4 separate regions of the Homo sapiens genome follow, and all the other regions are linked to region 2. The links are contacts of gene promoters, found by promoter capture Hi-C in blood cells and fetal thymus (Javierre and others, 2016). All regions are on one chromosome and are shown on one strand. Each heading gives the region's core, a stretch centred on a gene start or on the middle of the fragment in contact. The rest is flanking DNA. Distances are from core to core; before and after follow the strand shown.

Region 1 (2,700 bases), core at 186-2,685, 320 kb before region 2:
AGGTCTCTTCTTCTTCGACATCTTGCAGCAAAAACAATGTTTTGGGTCTGAAATACATATTGATTCATGTGTTTCTTCACACGGAAGTATGTGATATCTCATATTAGTTTGTAAACTCTGAGCCAGTTTAAAAGATAAATTGTAAGAATGAAGTGCTTAAAAACTGGGACAAACAATGAGAAATATGAAACTTTGATAATTCTTCAGAAGGGAAGCAGAAAGAGTTCTGGAAATATAAGTTAAAGTAATTAAGATTTTTTCCATGTTTATGAATTAAGTAGGCACCTTGAAAACTGCATCTGGGAGGCAGTTTTCCCTAGCATACTATGTGTTTAGCAAGAAGGAGCAAAGGAGAGGTGGCTTTGCCTAAATTTAGGGAACAGTGGTGGATTACAAAAGACATTGAGGAGAAGGGGACTCTTGAGGTGAGCTTCGATAGGTAGGAGTTAGCCAGGCAAAAGATTACTATATGAATAAATGGCACAAATGGGGTTGGTAGGGAAGTATCACACCAATTAGGAAATTTACTTTCTGGAAAGAATAATAAATGGTGTTAAAATAAACAGAGATAAGTCCTGAAAGGGGTTAGAGTTCTCAGTTGATACCACTGATACTAATCACCAAAGCTTTTGGTGTGAGGTTTTGTTTATGGTTGGTACACTATTGAATCCCTGCCTTAAATTAAGATAAAGATACGTTTCATCTTCCTTTTATTGCATGTCTACCTAAAATTGCAACTGCTGGCATTTATATTTTCTGTCTGGTGGTTCTACTCAACAGGGAGTCCTCAACAGCAAAAATTGGATTATGCGTATTCCCTGAGTGGAGCTTAGTGCCTGGTATATTGTATGTGGACTCTAGAGATACATGGAAGTGAATGAATTTGTTGGCAATTGTGTGTGTGTGTGTGTGTAGAGGTGTTTAGGGGCAACTTTCAACTCTTTTTGAGAAATGTGGACACATGGGGTAACCAGCAAATAGAACCCCATACCCTGATGCTTCCATGCTTCCAACAGAAACATGGAGAAAAAGATGACAAATATTCTAGGATAGACCATTGCCAAAGAAAGAAACTGTGAGATTGGGTTTTCTGAGAACTTAGGTAGGTAACAGAATTGAAATGGGTGTTAAGCTAGAGATTTGAAGGAGAGCAAAATCCTGACATTCTTTAAACTATTGAATTGTAAGTTCCCCAAATTTAAAATTCTCATTACATACAGTAAATTCCATATTTCTGCAATTCACTGGAAACTTAGGAGATATGAAATACCATTGATTGAGTTCTGGGACTGAAGGAGAAAGAATGCCTTCCTGTGGTCTTCTGGTTCTCAGTAGTAGTAAACATTAGGGACCAGAAATTCTGAGGCTTGAGAATAGAATATAAACCCCATGGATCGTAGCAAGGATCAAAATTGCCAGGATAGCTTTTCAAAATAGGTATAACTGAGCCCACCTTCAACACTTAAACTGAATCCAAGCATGTGCATTTATGAAGATATTTCACAATGGATGTTTATGTATAGCCCTGGATGAGGACTATTGATAAAGCATATACAAATAACAACACAGTGGCAACAATAACAACAGCTGCTGTACAGCTTATAAAACATTTTAAACTACATTATTTTACCTAATCTTCATAATAACCCTGTGAGATAAGTAGTGCTAACCCATTTTACAAAAAGAGAAGCTGATATTTGGAGAGGTCCAATAAATTTCCCATCTCTGTAGAACAGCAGAGGTACTCTCAATCCCAAGTATTCTGACTTTTCTAGTATCAAATTCTTCTTGGCACAAAGTATTTTACATCATACTGATCACATTTGAAATATTCCTTTTTCCCATCTCATTCACCATAATTCCTTCCTTATATGTATCCTACTCAGTGGAATCCCACTTTGGAAAGCTGTTTTCACACAGATATATTGGCAGGATTCTAGAAAGTTTAGTTTGGTAACTCCACTTTGGAATGAGCAACATTGACAATGATATCACTTTGATAACTCCATAGTAATATTAGCAAAATGATATTAAATATTTTAATTGCAAGAAATATACAGGGGTTTCCAATTTTAAATTGGAAATTTAAAATTTAAAATATCCAACTTTAAGAGAATTCCAGTTGCCAGATTAATGTTATACTAGTATCGGAGGAAAGTAATTAGCATTAAAGGCTAATTCTTTCCTTGCCTCACAGTTACACAATATGGTGACTAGATATTAACTTTTGAAATCAAAGCTTCAAGAATGGATATACAAATGTTCTTATTGAGCAATTTCAATCCCTGGAGAAATTTCTCAGAAAAAAAAATTGCCTTCCTGAATTAGGAGCTTTCAAATATCAGTCAAGAATTGGAGTATGTTTCCATTTATATTCTAAAAGTGTTTACAGTAATTCCTTGTTGGAGAAGTCCTTCAGTCCTTTGCCTTTTGTCTTCCCTCGCAGTGCAAGCTTTCCTTTCCACAGAGGATTTTCTATACTCACATTTTTTCTTTTGCATTTACTACATTTAATATTTCTTTCTATAATCTTGCTTTTCCTCTGTGTATTTACAGCTCATTACTTTTCTTTCCATGGAATTAATCTACATAGAGTAATGTCCCTTGATGATTAATTATTTAATAATAAATTATTATTAATGTAATCTTGATTTTAACAAAAATCTTTTTAGACAATTCCCAAAGTTTCTAGAGGTCAAA
Region 2 (2,775 bases), core at 218-2,717:
CTCCAAAAACATAGATACATACAAAAACATAGCTTCATACATGCTTGGTTGGGGTGTAAAATGGTACAATCATCTTGAAAAAATCCTTTGGCAGTGTCTAACATTTCTAAGTATTTTATCCAAGAGTAATAAAAATTGCAGGTCCACACAAAGCAGCTTTTTTCATAAGAGCCCCCAAACAAACTAGAAACAACACAAATTCCAGTAATAAGACATTTGTGATATATTAGAATATTACTCAATGATTTAAAGGAACAGACTATTGATACACACAGCAACATATTTATACATTGTGGGATATTCATACGTTTTGGTAAATTCATACCTTGGACTACGCAGGAATTAAAAGAAACAGACTATTGATGCAGTGACCTGGGCGTATCTCAAAAACAGGAAGTGTGAGAAAGAAATACTACACAGTGAATACTTTATAATTCCGTTTATATGAAATTCAAGAATAGGCAAATCTAATCTATGGTAATCGAAATGAGAAGAGTGTTTGCCCCTGGCCTAAGGATGGAAGGATTGATTTAGGAAAAAGTCTGCAGGAGCTTTCTGGAGTGATGGAAATGTTCTAACTCTTTTTTTTTTCTTCTTCTTCTTCTTTTTCTTCGTTTCGAGACGGAGTTCCACTCTGCCGCCCAGACTGGAGTGCAGTGGCGCCATCTGGGCTCACTGCAGCCTCCGCCTCCTGGGTTCAAGCCATTCTCCTGCCTCAGCCTCCCGAGGGGCTGGGACTACAGGTGCCCGCCACCACGCCCGGCTAATTTTTTGTGTTTTTAATAGAGACGGGGTTTCGCCATGTTGGCCAGGCTAGTCTCGAACTCCTGATTTCAGGTGATCCACCCGCCTTGGCCTCCCAAAGTGCTGGGATTACAGGCGCGAGCTACCGCGCCCAGCCAAAATGTTCTAATTCTTTATTGGTGGCTACACAGTTGTCAAAATTTATCAAACTGTCCACCTACGATATATTATAAGCCTGTATTAAATGTAAATTAGAACTCGATTGAAATCTGTGTGTATAAATATAAATATACACTTATTTACATTTCTAATCTAATCTGAAGGTCCATTGCAACGAATCCCGCTCCGCTCTGACCCAAGAACTCCGCACTTTCTCTCCACCAGCCTTTCAAATACCTGAACTTCATGCCTTCAAGAGGTGGATTCCGGCTTCTTTACAGCGCAATCACTAGCAGGTCATTTCCGTCTAGCTTGCAGATTTCCCATTACTGACACAAACGCTCCCTCAGGGCGTCCCCGTCTGGACTACAGGAGAAAGTTTGGGAGGCAGGTTCAACTTTTCAACTTGGCGGGGAATTCCTCTCCCTCTTACACAGTTTGCAGCGCGGGGGCGGCGGGGTGACAGTCCCCGTGCATGAATCAGCCACCCCTCAGGCTCCGCCCCGGCGGGGGTCGGCCGGACGCTCGCCCCGCATAAAGCGGGCACCCGGGCCGCCTGGAGCAGAAAGCCGCGCACCTCCTCCCGCCAGGCGCTTTCTCGGACGCCTTGCCCAGCGGGCCGCCCGACCCCCTGCACCATGGACCCCGCTCGCCCCCTGGGGCTGTCGATTCTGCTGCTTTTCCTGACGGAGGCTGCACTGGGCGATGCTGCTCAGGAGCCAACAGGTATCTGGCCGCTCCAGGAGCTTCTCTCCCCAACCGGCGGAGAGGGCGCAGCGGGCCATGGGGCCCCGTGTAGGCGCCCTCCAAGCCTCGCTTTCTCCAGGTCCCTGCCGCGCGCTCCGCTGGCAGGGGGGACTCGCTCCCAAGTTTGCACTTTCTCTGCAGAGGCCCCTCCGCTCGGAAGGGGACAGAACTCCCCGGGATGTTCTTTCCTCCTAGGAGCTACGCCTGACCACTTTCCCTCTCTTTTGCTCTCCTTCTGCCCCTTCTTCAGGAAATAACGCGGAGATCTGTCTCCTGCCCCTAGACTACGGACCCTGCCGGGCCCTACTTCTCCGTTACTACTACGACAGGTACACGCAGAGCTGCCGCCAGTTCCTGTACGGGGGCTGCGAGGGCAACGCCAACAATTTCTACACCTGGGAGGCTTGCGACGATGCTTGCTGGAGGATAGAAAGTAAGTGCCCTGCGCGCACCCAGGACTCTCGCGCTCCTTGCGCCGGCGGCTGGTAGCAGCTTCGCCAGTTTCCCACGTCTCGCTTTCTACAGGAAGTTTTAGCCTGGGTTTTCTCAAGTGTTAAGCAAACCTCATGGTTTTCAGTTTCTTAAAAGTAATCACAAATTTACAACCACTAACACATTTCCTGTCTCCCAACTGACATTGATCATAATTCAGTGCCTGTGCGGACTCAGGGAAAGATTTGTTCCCTCACCATGGGGTATAATAAATGCAAGAGAATAACGTGTTAGGTACAACGTAAGTGCTTCTCTGTATTTTTCATTAATTCCAAACCTATGATTTTTATCTCTCCTGGAGTACATCATTTCCTTCTGTCGATTATCCATCAATCTGAAATATTTTTAGTGGATTTTATTATTGAAGTGTGACTTAGCTCATTATATAACTCTACTTTTGTCCCGATACCCAAACATGTGTTGGATTAGTTGCGGGACATGGTGGAGATTCATAATACTGTTATATTTTAATTTATTTTTAATTTTTAAATTATATCGGTTAAGGCCTGTAAGAGAACATGGGGCTTTTCCATTCAAGGAACTGAGCCAGGGGAAAATGCGTATTCATGTGAATAAGCTTTGATTCACTGCATATGTACAATCAGAGAACACCCAGAGAAAACAGAGAGTCTT
Region 3 (2,700 bases), core at 15-2,514, 370 kb before region 2:
GTTTGGCGTCTCTCCTGGAAATCACAAGCTATTACCTTACTGAGTTTGGAGTTTTTTAACTTTACAATTCCTGCTTGTTTGGGAAATCCCAAGCCTAGAAATTAATATGCAGTTTGTCCAAAGAAAGTAAAAAGAAGAGAATATAAAGGAAATGAATAAAAGTTAAAGAAATAGAAATAGAAAAAAAGGAAACAATATTGAGTGTCAATAAAGCCAAACATTGATTTTTTGGAAAGATAAAATAGGAACAATTTGAGTAAGACTAATGAAAAAAGAAAGAAATTAGACATAGATAAATTATATTAGGAATAAAAAAAGACAATTGCCGTGTGTGTGTGTTTGTGTGTGTGTGTGTGTGTGTGTGTGTGTGTGTGTGTCCAGAAGCTACCTTGGTGATAAACATGAAAGCTTTAGTTAAAAAAATAAAATTATAGAAAAATTGCCAAATTTGCCAAAATGACTAAGGAACTTTGTAATTGTTAAAGAAATTTATTCAGCAGTTAAAAGTAAATCCAGATGAAATTTATCAGACTCCAAGGGCTAAACGAGCAAGTGCTACAAATTTGAGAAATATGTAATTTCTTTTTAATATAAACTCATCTAGATAATAGAAAAAAAGAAATCCTCCACAACTTGTTCTATGAGGTTGATAAAAATGTGAAACCGAGGTTTTCAGAGCTCTAGTACCACAAAGGAACAATTTGTCAGAACTGTAGTATCACAGAGGAAAACTGCTAGCTGATTTCATTTATGAAAATGATGCAAAATCAATCATAAATAAAATATTAACAAAACAAGGCCAACAATTTATTAAAATATATAGCATGACCAAATGGGGTTCATTTTCGAAATGCCAAAATGATTAAACATTAGACCAACATTTATTAATTTTGTTTACCATATAAACAGATTGAAGATGCAAATCAATTATCTCAACAGATTCAGAAAAATTACTTGATAAAGTTTAGTACTCACTCAGGGTAAAAAACAAAGAAATCTGTAAATTTATAATAAAATTGAAAAATGAGAAAACTTCGTTAACCTGATATAGAATATCAACCCAAAACTCTCATAAATATTATACCTAGTAGAGAAACATTAGACGCTTCATCTAAGTCTCTTGTAAATGATGCCTGCAATTACCATTTCATTTAAATATTGTACTGGAGATTTTAGTAAGTGGAATAAGACAAATTAGTTAATTAAAAAATTTTAATGTGAAAAGATCAGAAAGGAAAAAATAAAATAATCATTATTATTGATGATATAATTGTCTACATGGAAAAATGTATTAATAAGAAAATTTATAAACTGTTCATACCAGCAATAGTTAAGCTAAATTCCTGGATGCAAGAGCAACATACAAAATCATTACTATATCTTTACACCCTCCCTAAAATTTAGTAAATGTACTAACATTTACTTAGTATTGGAGGGTGACAATTCTCCAATTAATTTATAAAGTAAATTTAGCTTTACAGACTTCATAAGAAAATGCAAAGTGTTATACAAAAGTAAAGATGGTTGAGAATGGTTTAAAATATTTTTATAGAAAGAAATAGAAAATGAGGTGTAGGAGGAGAAGGAGAAGAAAAAGAAGAGATTCACCCCACTCTGAGTAAAACTTACTTTACAGTCATATTAAATGAGATGGTGTTATTGATATGGAGACAGAAATAGATCAATGGAGAAGAATCTGGAGCCTAGGAACAGACTCATCTCCCTATGAGAACTTTGTGTAGAGTGGCCTTATAAATCCACTCATCAGTAAGCAGTGCTACAACAACCGGCTATCCACAGAAAAAAGAATGCTAGATTTCTCTTTCATACCATACACGAAAATAAACTGCAGCTAGATTAAACAATAAATGTAAAAAGTAAACCTTTAACATTTTCAAGAAAAGATAAAGAACAATATTTTATGACTTCAGGTAAGAGATATTTCTTAAACAACAGACAACTATTAAAGAAATAGTGTTAAATTTGGCTTCATTAAATAAAAAACCTGTGAATGACAAAATATTCCATAAAAGGAGCAAAAAAGCAATCTACACAGAAAGAAGATATTTTCTATCTATATAACTGGCAAAAGAATGGTATTCAGAATACATAAAAGCTTTCATATATCAGTAAGGAACAGAAAACAACCCATTTAAAAGTGAGAAAAGGATATGAAAAAGCAATTCACAGAAGGGGAAACTAGAAGATTTCATAAATATATGAAAAGATATTCAACTGCACTGATACATAGAGAATATATATTAGAATAATACAAAATACTATTTCATCCCAAGAGATAAGAAAGACAATAAGTCTGTTATCACCAAATAATGGTAAAAATGTAAGTAAACAGAACACAGGTAATGCTAGCAGAGGATAAATTGGTACAACCACTTTGGAAAACAATATTTCATCAATTAGTAATGATGGAAATGCATGCATCCTGAAGTTCTAAAATTCTATTTCTAGTTACACTTCTTAGAAAAACTCTCACACATGTGCACAAGGGGTCATCCACCGGGATTTTCACTGCAGCACTGTTTACAAAAGTAAAAAAAGTGAAGACAATATTAACTGCTTCTTGGTAGGGAACTGGAGAGATAAGCTGGGTTTATTTATACAATGAGTGTTGTACAGCAGTTAAAATGAATTCACTAAATCTACATATATCAGTATGAATAAATCTCACAGAGTATGTTT
Region 4 (2,700 bases), core at 196-2,695, 480 kb before region 2:
CTTGGGATTTTTCTCTTCATGAACTTGAAGGAAATCAGAAATGAAAAGCTTATTTTCTCCTCATTTCACAAGGAACTAACTTGCTGAATGTATACCCTGACACTTGTTTATATAACATGAAGTCTAAGGACAGAGAAAAAAACCCAGAAACTTGATCAGTTCTATAGGATGAACATTCAAGCACAATCCATAATTTACCAATGAGAAGTCTGTTAAGGTTGACTTGCTGTTTTTAATGGATTCCGATTGAGTGGTGCTTTGCTTTAAATTAGTTGTGTGAATTTAATGATCAGCCTGATATTGTTCTCATCATATATGTTAAGGGCAACTTCCAGAGTTGGGACATTAATTTTTTGGGCAAATTGTTAAAAACTTGGCAGGAACAGAAATGAGAGAGGGGTAAAATGCCCTTTGATCATCATTTCTTTCATCTGTAAATTGGGGGTAATATTTTCAAAGCCTATTTAATAGAATGATGAACAGAACCATTATTTGTGAATTCATCAATTGCTCTTGAAAGTCAAATGGAAGGTGAGAGATGAGGATACAGTTTCATTCTCCTACATGTGGCCAGCCAATTATCCCAGCACCATTTATTGAGAAAGGTGTCCCTCCTTCACTTTATATTTTTGTTTGTTTTGTCAAAGATCAGTTGGCTATAAGTATTTGGGTTTATTTCTGGGTTCTCTATTCTGTTCCATTGTTCTATGTGTCTATTTTTATATCAGTACCATGCTGTTTTGGTGACTATGGCCTTATAGTATAGTTTGAAATCAGGTAGCGTGATGCCTCTTCTCACTGATATGTGGGAGCTAAGCTATGAGGACGCAAAGGCATAAGAATGATACAATGGACTTTGGGGACTTGAGGGGAAGGGTGGGAGGGGGACAAGGGATAAAAGAGTACAAATAGGGTGTAATATATACTGCTCGGGTGATGGGTGCACTAAAGTCTCACAAATCACCACTAAAGAACTTATTCATGTAACCAAATGCCACTTGTACCCCAATAACTTTTGGAAAAATAAAAAATAAAAATATAAAAAATAAAATAATAAAAATGTTTAAAGAGAAAATCACATGTAAGGGTTTTGCAAATTATAAATCAGTGATTCCCACCTGGAGTGGGGAGAGTGGAGGAATAGAAATGTTAGTCACCTCTTAAGACTATAGCCAGATTTGAAGGCATCAGTTCATATTTTCCCTTAATTTTAGGTGTGGAGGCTTCTAATTCCTGGCTAATATGGTGACAAAATAAGATAGAATTTGCATGATATGCATGATCAATTATCATTGAGTTGGCACTGTTACGCATATAGGAATTCTGGGTCCCTACCCCAGATCTGCTGAAACAGAATTTTCAAGGGTTGGCCCAGCAATCTGTGTTTCAGCAAACCCTCCAGCTCATTCCAACATCCACTCAAGTTTGAGAACCACAGATCTAATCTAATCCTGTTGACTACCTGGTCATATCACCTACTTGAAAAATGACAATAATTTTTGTCTCTCAGCATCTGCTTCCTTCTTCTCATCCTCCTTTTCATGGTCACTAATCATTTCCTAGAGTACCTTTTTCATCATGCCATTCCTCTTCTCAGAATTTCTAGGAAGCCACTGATGACCTACCACATCCATTTCTACAGATATTGTAGCTAAAAGGGGCCCTTATGAGGAAGTCAGGCCATAAAAAAAAAATATTCTGAGGCAGGCAAGTAGGGTGGGTGAGTGTGACAAATCAGGTTATAAATCCTCTACATCAAATTGGCCTACTTATATCTAGTTAAAATATGTCTGTAGGCAGCTTTGGGAAGTGGGAGATACAGGAAAAAAGGGAGATGCCACGAAAGGAAAACATACAAACTGGGGTATGTCTTTAGAAGGGGCAGGGAGACTAGGATCCAAGCCACTGTATTTTGATATTTGTCATTGTCAGACCTCTTTTTTGTTCTTTCTTTCTTGGAACTAGCTCAGTGGAGTGTATTAGTTTGCTAGGGCTGCTGTAACAAAGTATCACAAAGTGGGTCGTGTAAACCAGCAGTCCTCAACCCTTTTGGCACCAGGGACGGGGGTGGGAGGGGGATGGTTTCGGGATAAAACTGTTCCACTTCAGATCATCAGCCACTAGTTAGATTCTCATAAGGAACGCACAACCCAGATCCCTCGCATGCACAGTTCACAGTAGGGTTCGCGCTCTTATGAGAATCTAATGCCACGGTAATGTTCTCACCCTCGGCTTACCTCCTGCTGTGTGGCCTTGTTAAAGGCCAAGGACCTTGGCCCCGGAGTTGGGAACCACTGGCATAAACAACAGAAATGTATTGTCTCACAGTTGTAGAGGTTAGAAGCCTGAGATCAAGTTGTTGGGAGGATTGGTTCCTTCTGAGGACTGTGAAGGAGAGCGCTCTTCCAGGCATCACTCCTTGGCTTATATTTGACCATTTTCTCCCTCCATCTTCACTTCGTCTTTCCTTTGTGCCTGCCTCTGTGTCCAAATGTCCTCTTTTTATAAAGACAGCAATCATATTGGATTACAGCCCACCCTAATGACCTCATTTTAAATTGATTACCCTTTAAAAACTATATCTCCAAATAAAGTCACATTCTGAGGTACTAGGGGCTAAGATTCAACACAGGAATTTTGGGGGGCACACAATCCAGCCCATAACATGGCATTTCCACCTTTTCCTGTATGCTTGGGTGG

Evidence for each region. The method cuts DNA at HindIII sites, captures the fragments that hold promoters and counts their contacts. A CHiCAGO score of 5 or more calls a contact.
Region 1: a contact is called between a fragment that was not itself captured here and the fragment with the promoter of TFPI2 in region 2, in 1 of 17 cell types (endothelial precursors). The highest score is 6.8, in endothelial precursors.
Region 3: a contact is called between a fragment that was not itself captured here and the fragment with the promoter of TFPI2 in region 2, in 2 of 17 cell types (endothelial precursors and M1 macrophages). The highest score is 5.3, in endothelial precursors.
Region 4: a contact is called between a fragment that was not itself captured here and the fragment with the promoter of TFPI2 in region 2, in 1 of 17 cell types (M2 macrophages). The highest score is 5.1, in M2 macrophages.

The regions. Positions count from the first base shown.
Region 1 is chr7:94,206,047-94,208,746 of GRCh38, reverse strand. No RefSeq gene overlaps it. Among named protein-coding and RNA genes, the nearest start is that of COL1A2-AS1, 180 kb to the left of the region's middle. The HindIII fragment of the contact is 1,613 bases long and covers 629-2,241 here.
Region 2 is chr7:93,889,445-93,892,219 of GRCh38, reverse strand. TFPI2 (tissue factor pathway inhibitor 2) reads left to right here and starts at 1,467. Exons shown (of 5, transcript NM_006528.4): 1 at 1,467-1,629; 2 at 1,901-2,083. The coding sequence starts at 1,542. It overlaps TFPI2-DT (TFPI2 divergent transcript), which reads right to left and starts at 1,326. Exons shown (of 2, transcript NR_134235.1): 1 at 1,141-1,326. The HindIII fragment of the contact is 7,194 bases long and covers 1-2,721 here.
Region 3 is chr7:94,254,757-94,257,456 of GRCh38, reverse strand. No RefSeq gene overlaps it. Among named protein-coding and RNA genes, the nearest start is that of COL1A2-AS1, 140 kb to the left of the region's middle. The HindIII fragment of the contact is 1,708 bases long and covers 411-2,118 here.
Region 4 is chr7:94,371,575-94,374,274 of GRCh38, reverse strand. All of the region lies in intron 5 of COL1A2-AS1 (COL1A2 antisense RNA 1), which reads left to right. Among named protein-coding and RNA genes, the nearest start is that of COL1A2-AS1, 19 kb to the left of the region's middle. The HindIII fragment of the contact is 2,789 bases long and covers 51-2,700 here.